2 separate regions of the Homo sapiens genome follow, and region 2 is linked to region 1. The links are contacts of gene promoters, found by promoter capture Hi-C in blood cells and fetal thymus (Javierre and others, 2016). All regions are on one chromosome and are shown on one strand. Each heading gives the region's core, a stretch centred on a gene start or on the middle of the fragment in contact. The rest is flanking DNA. Distances are from core to core; before and after follow the strand shown. Region 1 holds the start of HK2 (hexokinase 2). Region 2 has its middle 41 kb from the start of MRPL19.

The links. The method cuts DNA at HindIII sites, captures the fragments that hold promoters and counts their contacts. A CHiCAGO score of 5 or more calls a contact.
Region 2: a contact is called between a fragment that was not itself captured here and the fragment with the promoter of HK2 in region 1, in 1 of 17 cell types (naive CD8 T cells). The highest score is 5.8, in naive CD8 T cells.

What each region holds. Positions count from the first base shown.
Region 1 is chr2:74,832,069-74,836,403 of GRCh38, reverse strand. HK2 (hexokinase 2) reads right to left here and starts at 2,277. Exons shown (of 18, transcript NM_000189.5): 1 at 1,761-2,277. The coding sequence starts at 1,823. It overlaps HK2-DT (HK2 divergent transcript), which reads left to right and starts at 2,417. Exons shown (of 1, transcript NR_185897.1): 1 at 2,417-3,749. RefSeq lists enhancers at 836-905, 683-1,559 and silencers at 1,136-1,385, 2,306-2,535, 2,716-2,785. The HindIII fragment of the contact is 22,379 bases long and covers 1-4,335 here.
Region 2 is chr2:75,603,213-75,607,547 of GRCh38, reverse strand. No RefSeq gene overlaps it. Among named protein-coding and RNA genes, the nearest start is that of MRPL19, 41 kb to the left of the region's middle. The HindIII fragment of the contact is 160 bases long and covers 1,649-1,808 here.

The DNA.
Region 1 (4,335 bases), core at 1,028-3,527:
CAACTCATTTCCAGATACCCTGGTTAATTCCCGTTCCACTCTGGGGGAAGAGAGATGACCCCCATTCCAAGATTGAGAGTGGTATAACTCCAACGGGGTTCCAACCCTGGTGCCCTCCTCTGGATTGAGGAAGAGTAAATTTATGCAAGGATTCAAATGTCCTGGGGTAATACCCAAAGGAGAACTCCCTGAGATTAATGACGCTCCACTGTGTATTTTAGGACTTGCCAAGAGATGATAGCCTTCCCCAAGAGTTCTTAGAAGTTGAGAAGTTACCAAGATCCTGCCAGCTCAAATCAAAGGCACGTTTTTAAGTAAACTGAATCAAGGTGCAGAGCCACATCCCAGGAATTAGAGAATAACAGCCATTTACAAACAGTAAAACCCAAGTAAATCAACCGCCTCTGCTCGCTCCTCCAGACTTGAGGCTGGGTAACTTCTGCTTTTCTTGGAGGTTCACGCGCCATCACTACATTAATATGCCTCCTATGCCCTCGGGACCGCCAGAATGGGAATATGAGCAGGTTGTCGCACAGAACGGTAATGGCAAGACATTTTCCCAAAAATGTGTTCCCATCAGATATTGAAATTCCAAGTATGTAACTGAGCAACGCTCCGTTGCCTCACAGCTCTTAAAACAACCTCCCTCCAGCTAATCCCCTCCCAACTTGTCCCCTACCTCAAATCGTAGCCCAGGCCCGGGCCAGGAGCCAATCCCCTAATCCCGGGCATTTCAGAAACTCAATTCTGAGCGCGCCCCTGGCCCTGCCCGTCCCCGGCCCCGGCCCCATCCCCACCCCCATACCCCGAGGCGGGGAATGAGAGCTTCCCGGCTTGGCCTGAGGCTCTTTCTTATGTAAATGACCCGGCCGCGGTGAGCGCTCAGCCATAGGGAGCTGCGGAGCCAGGTGGGAACAGACAGGTCGAGGCTTAAGGAAAAAAAAGCTCGTTTTCGGAAGGACATAAATCTCAAGAATCTCAAGTAATCCAGGAACGCGGCGCGTTGGCCTCTCCGAGTAACTTTTAGGGCAAACCAGAAAGTAACAACCAAAGTCCTCCCCTTACTCAGAGGCAGATCCTGAGGACACGAGGCTGGGCGGTCCCGAGGCTGATTTGGAGGGGCGGGGGTTAATGGGGGACGCCCCTCGCCGAGCCTCAGTTCCGGGCGCCACAGTTCCGGGGAGGGGGCGCGGCGGGCGGAGTTCCTCTGCCCCTTTCCTACTCCTTCCCGGGTCAGCTTCTCCTCGAGCCCACCCCCGCAGGGCCGCGGGGAAGGAGAAGGGAACCGCTCGTCTCCTACACGCGGTCCGCGAGCGCGGACGGCCCCCGGCGGCCCCACGCGGCAGCGGAGCAGCCTCCCGCAGCCACGATTCTCTCCACGTGCTCTCGCCGGAACTCGCGCTGCAGAAGGGGGCTCCCTCCCACGTGGGCGCAGCAATCCCTGACTACCTGCGGGGTGACCCGCCCCTCCAGTAACAGGGAAAAAGGGACTGGGGGAGAGAGCGTGAGCGCGTGCCGGAGCTCAGGGAGGGAGGGCGCCCGGCGGAGCGCGACCTCGGCTCCCCGCCCGCGCGCACTCGCCGGCTGTGCTTAGCGGACGTGGCTCCTGGCGCCCAGGAGTGTCCCGGCTGCCCAAACTTTTTCCGCTCCCAGGCCCGGAGTAGGGAGGAAGCGGGTCCCCGCAGGGTCGAGGAAGAGACTGATGGAGGCCAGACCACTTTGCCAGAGCCCAGCCTGCCGCCCCGCCCGCGCTGACTTACCTTCTGCACTTGGTCATGGTTGAGCTCCGTGAAGAAGTAGGCAAGCAGATGCGAGGCAATCATCCTGCCGCGGCCCGACGGCGCAGAGTTGGGAAACCGAGGCGGAGACGCGAGAGGGGAGGCGGGCGGCGCGGTCCGACTGCTTTGTGCTGGGGCTCGGCTGCCGGGCCGGGAGCTGGGAGTCCGGACGGCGCACAAAGAAGGCTACCGGCGAGGGTGCGCCCGGCTGGCGGAGGGCGCGGGTCTCCGGAGACGTGATTTTGGCGTCACAACTGCTAGAAGGCGCCTCAGTTCTCTCCTGGCGACGTGTCCGGTTGTCCCACGTCAAGGCGCTAACTTCGGCCACAGGATCACTGAGGCTCAACTTGAGAAGAATCTCAGCCCGGCTCCACTCGGGCAGTGGGACCTCTCCGATTCACAGGCGCGTGGCTCGGGCCCGCGGATTTTCTTAGCTGGGTGACACGATGTTGCCAGCGGCAGCCCGGGACTCCTGCGCCGGAGTTTCATGCAACAATGTGGCTTATTGAGGGGCTGCCGGCCCGCGGGCCTCCGGATCAGTGACGTGCGCACGCCCATTGGCTGCGCGGGGAGGGTGTGTGCGCCCACGGACCGCCCGCCGCCGTGGCGCAGCCAATCATCGCTCACGGCTCGCGGGCGCGGCCGCTCAGACACCGGAGCCGGCAGCCTGGGGAGGCGCGCCGGGGGCGGGGGGCGGGGGAGGGGCGGGGCGCCTGAGATGGGACGTGTGGTCCGTGGCTAAAGGCTGGGACGGAAAGGCGCATGAGCCACCGCCGCGTCAGGCTCGGCTATGGGTGGGGGGAGCGTGATCGCGGACCCGGGGTGTGGGGCGACTGGAAAAACGGGCCTCTGGACCAGCACACGCCCTGTGCGGAGAGACACTGTCTGGCATCTCGGGATCATGTGAGGGGCTCCCACTGCCCAGTCACACGTCTAAAGCATCCTAGTTCTTACCTATTGTAGCACGGCCGGAAAGTGAGCCGCCTTAGCTGCTGATTGTACTAGAGCAGGCAATACAAGAGTCGGCCCATCCTCAAAACCACTGATAGGATGTGAGTTTCACTAACCCCGTTTTACAGATGAGGAAATTGAGGCAAGGCCAGGGCTCACACCTGTAATCCCAGCACTTTGGGAGTCCAAGGTTGGAGGGTTGCTTGAGACCAGGAGTTCATGACCAGCCTGGGCGACATAGTGAGACCCCCATCTTCCCAAATAAAAATAAATAAATCAGCCGGACATGGTGGCATGTGCCTGTAGTCCCTGCTGCTCAGAAGGCTAAGGTGGAAGGATAGCTTGAGCCCAGGAGTTCGAGGCTGCAGTGAGCTATGATCATACCACTGTACTCCAGCCTAGGTGACAGAGGGAGACCCTGTCTCAAAAAGAAAAGAGACTTACACGAGGTCACATAGCTAATAAGTGGCAGATAGGGAAGAGAACCCTTGTCCCTCTACTTTAAGGCCCTATTCGCTTGCCCCATTATCCCATGCTGCCTCTCTAAGAGCCAGAGAAGTAGGAGGTAGAAAAAGAGCATCTCTGCAGCTCTGGGACTGATGATGTGAATGAACTGGGTAGATGGTAAGTGTGTAACTGGGTGATCTTGGACATGGGATGGGGTGGGTGAGGAGGCTTACCAATGCTGAGAGGAGTGGAAGCTCCAACCCCAGCTAATGCTAGACACCAGACTCCAAATTTAAACACACAGTGGAAACTGGCAAGAATGAAATACTGACTTCAATACAGATTTCAAGAGACATGACATTAGCACTGGTGGAGAATGGCAAGCCTAAGGTTGGAAAAGGTTCAGGGAAGGAAGATGAAGGTCTGCCATGTTCTACTGAGGAGGAGTTTTTCAAACAGTGGGGTGCTGTCTGCAATGTGTACAGCCTTAAAATTATTATATAAGTAATCAATACTCATTGTTGAAAAATAATATATGGATAAACAGGAAAAATAAACAAAAATCATAATCCATCTAGCCTCTCAGCAAAACTTCCTTTTTTTTTTTTTTAAAGCAGGGACTCGATATGTTGCCCAGGCTGGTCTTGAACTCCTGGGCTCAAGCAGTCCTCCCACTTCAGCGTCCCAAATAGCTGGGATTACAGATGTGCTCAGCAAAACTTCTTGAGAACTATGTACCCTTCTAAATGCACGTCCTCAACCCTCCTTCCCTATACTCCACACAGAATTGAGCTCAAACTGCTTTTGTCATAGTCATCATAATGACCTACATGTTGCCAAATCTTGCATTCTCTTCTCTTCCCTGCCCTTGTCTTACTCCTTCTCTCAGGGATGTTGAGGACAGTTAATCACATCCTCCATCTGGACACACCTTCCTCTCTCAGTAAGAGCACCAGTGCTCCACTCTGAGGGTTTCTGGCTAACCTCACTCCCCAGGCTCCTGAGTCCCTGTTTGCTCTATTGGTAAATGCTGGGGTATTCGGGGCTGCCCTCCACCCTCTTCTCTGAACTAGTTACAGTTTCAAACTCCCTGAGGAGAAACTAACTTCCTAGCCCCATGACTGTTATATCATATGCATGCTGATGACTCACCATAGTA
Region 2 (4,335 bases), core at 479-2,978, 770 kb before region 1:
AGTTCCACTCATTCAAGAACAAGGAGATCTGAAGGGAATCTGCAGAACCCCACAACCAAAGAGGGCTATGGTCATGGGTGAAGCAGGGACCATGAATAGGAACTTGGACTGGTCGATGGGAGCAATACTAACAAGTTAGGCCTGAAAGGGCAGCATCTAGCATGGCGCCAGCACATAGATGGTCCTCAGGAAGTGAGTGATAAATCGGGGAGGAATGGATGGTACATGATGAACAGTCTTTATTAAGCCGAATCTCAGGCTGTATTTGTTACAGGCAGTTACCGCAGTCTGGGTTGAAGTCATAATTCTCTCAAGAACTTTGCATGCTCCTGGAACTTCCCACTATATTTCTCAACTGATTTCCCCATGAGTTTGACTAAGGATGTGGACCACTTGAGTTGGTAAACCACACTGACCATCCCCGCCACACTACAAGCAGCAGCAGCTCCCTATCCAGGCTCCTGTTTGCAGAGCTGGAAATGGCCGAGCTCTGCATGGTGGTTCAGCATGACTCAACCTCCTTGTTTGGGGGCCAGCCCCCACTCCTGGCCATGAATCTAACTGAGCCTAAAACCCCCTTGTTTTTCTAAGTGGGTGTTGGGAATTTCCTTGGTTAAGCCTCCAGGTCTTCCCTCCTTCCGGATTTAATGAGCTCATTTATTTTACTTTTTCACTTAGCAGGTTTTAGGGCCAGTTAATGAATGGTGGGGTTCTCTTTAAGAGCCAAGTTGGGCCGGGGCTCAGGGCACTTTTCTTGCCATTTCCCACTCTCAAGTCCCCTGTGTCTCTAGAAGTCTCTCCACAATGCTGGCAACTGCTCTTCCCACTGCAATCCCCATATATCGAACTTTCTGGAACACAAGGACAGGGAGACCTCCAAATATTTTTGTGGTTGTTGTTTTGTAGTTTGTTCTGCTTTGTTTTGTTTTTCCCCTCCACACATTTTTCTGGGATGGCTGTTTCAATATGAGCTTGTGCTTTCTAAAAAGAAGGAGGTGTGGATGCCTCAGGAAAAGAGATCCATTTTTAAATGCAGGGCCTCCACTCTGAGTTCTGTCTGAAGTATTTGGTAGATTTTTGGGGTGGAGCAAGCTGGTTGTGAATTCCAGGGAGACTTGCCAGATGCTGTTTAAACCTCCTTTGTGTGAAGTTGGCTGTAAAGAGCCGCCAGGAGGGCGCACTAGTGGAAAGGAACTTGGAAGCCAACCTTTAGCCCAGAAAGAATGAGAAAGAATCCAGGGTCCACATGGCAAGAATGCATGCCTGCAGCAACTCAATGACTGACTCAGTTCCTAGAAGCTCCTCTTGGTAACGCCCTCTCTTCTGCTAGGTTGAATCACATACTGGAGAAAGCTTAGTCCAAAGAGTCTCCTGTACCTTTGTCCATCTATCCACCCATCCAGTAAATAAAGATTGAGCATTTACTGTGGGTCAGACACTGAGCTAGGCACTAGGGCATCAGGAGGAACAACTGGCCACAGTCCTAATGAATGCCCACAGGTCAGAAGAGTCAGGATTCCTGTGTGGTGGGAATGACAGACAGTGGGGGAGGCACTAGAGGATAAGTCATAGAAACCTCAGCATGTCACGCTTGGATAGCTTGCAGAGCAGTTGCTAACTGCTTGTTTACTGCTGAAGCACCAAAGCTTGGATACGATGCTCCCAACTGGCAAGGCAGAGCCCACGGCTTGCTTCTGCCTGGGGACCAGGCTGTGGGTGGCAATGGGAGCCTGAGTTTCTCTGCTAAACCTTCATACCAGGCAAGAGTCTGGGGCCAGTATTATTAACCAAAAACACATTTTGAAGCTTGTTGTGATCTGACTCCCTACGTGACCCCAGCAAAAAACAGAGAGAAGGGCTCAGGTGGGGGAAGGCAGCCCACCTTCATCTGCATTGGGTTGCTGTGTGTATTGGCTCCCTAGAGCTGCTGCAACAAAGTACTACAGACTGTGTGGCTTAAACAACAGAAATTTATTTTCTCACAGTTCTGGAGGCTAGAAGTCCAAGATCAAGGTAGCAGTAGGGTTGGTTCCTTTTCAGCGCTATGCAAGAGAAGCTGTTCCCTGCTTCTCCCTTAGCTTCTGGTGGTTTGTTGGCAATCTTTGGCATTCTTTGGCTTTTAGAAGTGTCACCCTAATCTCTGCCTGCATCTTCATATGGTGTTCCCCCTGTGTGGATGTCTCCATGTTCAAATTTCACCTTTATATAAGAATACCAGTCATATTGGTTAACCACACCCCACCACGACTTTATCTTAACTAATTCAATCTGAAATGACTCTATCTCCAAATAAGATCATATTCTGCAGCACTGGGAGTTAGATTTCAATGTATGAATTTTAGGGGTATACAATTCAACCCATAGCACCATGATTCTGACGTTATCCTTCTCCTCCAGCCATCAGCAGTACCTATGAGGAGGAGGTCAGGGCTGAGTCCATCTCAAGGAGGATCAGGAGTGGTGTCCTAGGGAGAACCAAAGGGTAGTCTACAAGCAGGGAAACAACTACTAGAAGGAGAGTTTGGGCTAGAGAGGAGTCTGGCACATGGATGTCTCATAAGCAGCTGCAGAAACGTAGAAGAGCAGTTATCAGGGTGCACAGATTTGGTCCTCTACCCCATTGTGCTTGGAGATAGCAGGAGCCTAAAGGAGAAGAAAGCCCCAAGCGGGCAGCTATTTTTAGCCTGGGACAGAGTTGTCAGAGGATGGCAGGGGGCAGAAAGGCCCCTGGGATCTGGGTGAGAAGACCCTGGGACTTTGAAGAAAGGGGAGAATAGCTATCAAGGTCCAGAGCTCCGGAGGACTTTTGAGTCGTTTAGTGTGCAGGAATGAGAATGTGAGACTGTGAGCGAGGGCACCTGGGGTGACTCTGCTTGCATGAATGACTGGGTGTTCATTCATAGCCATCCAGGGTTAGCTAAGACTCTTAGCCACTTCCTCTTTGAAACACAAGATTAATTTAATTAAAAAGCATAATTGTGGTGGGATATTGTCATATAGCCTTGTAGACTTTGGCAGATAATTCTGAAAAAGAAAATAGGGTACATTTGCCTTACCAAATATTGACATTTAAGATAAAGTGATTTTCATCAAAATAATATGTTTTGGCACATGAACAAGTGGTCCACTGGAACAGGCTAGAATCCAGGAATGGGTACCGTATGTTTGCAAAATTAGTATTTGATAAAGACAACATTTCAATTCAGCAGGAAAGTTAGGATTGATTCAAGAAATAGTGCTGACCTAATTGGCTCTTCATCTGGGGAAAAAAAGTGAGATGGGTTTTGGTTAAAGATATAAATGTAAATAAGTAAACACAAAGGATTTGAAGAAAATCTAGTGGAAAGTTTCTATAACTTTGGCATAGAGGGCATAAATTTAATGGTAGCAAGAATCCCAAAATCCAACAAGGAGAAAACAAATGACATATTTTCTCACTTTTTTTTCAAATTACAAGAACAAAACATTATAAGCAAAGTCAAAAGACAAGCTATAGTCTCAGACAAACATTTGCAGCATATATGAAAGGATATGATCCTTAACTTACCCAAAGCTCATAAAAATTGGTAATGAAATGGCCAAAAGCAACAGGAAAAAATATGAACAAGCAATTCACAAAAGAGGAAATAAAGATTTAGATGGGATAGAGAAGTTAGAGAAAATAAAATTTAGTTCTTTATTCCACATATTGGGCAAAAATTAAAAAGACCAGAAACATCCTATGAATGAGCACTTTTATATCTTGCCAGTGGGAATGTGAAGTACTCAAGTCTCCAGGGAAAAATAATCTAGCAATGCCTGTTAAAGCTCAAAATGCACACCCATTAAATCAGGAACCCTATTGCGGGCAGTCATTCCAGTAGATATAAAGTCATCAGTACCCAAGAATATGTTGACAAGGGTGTTTACAGTAGCATTGTTCACTGTGGCAAAATATTGGGCAATGCACAATTATTCACCAATAATAAAATGGCCAAATAAGCATGGTAATTCCATGCTGTGGGCTATCCTGTAGTTATCACAAAGAAAAATGAATGAGTTAGATCTATGAGCATATTCACATGAGCCAGCTGCAGTGGTGGGTGCTTGTGATCCCACTCACTTGGGTAGCTGAAGTGGTAGGATTGCTTGAGTCCAAGAATTCAAGATCAACCTGGGAAAAATTGCAAGATCCTATTAAAAAAATGTACACACACACACACACACACACACACACACACACACACACACATATTCTCAACATGTGAATCTATATGTTATATATTACATATATATGTTTATGCATGGAGAGACATGCTAGTCTTATATTAAATGAAAAAAGCAAGTTATGAGAAA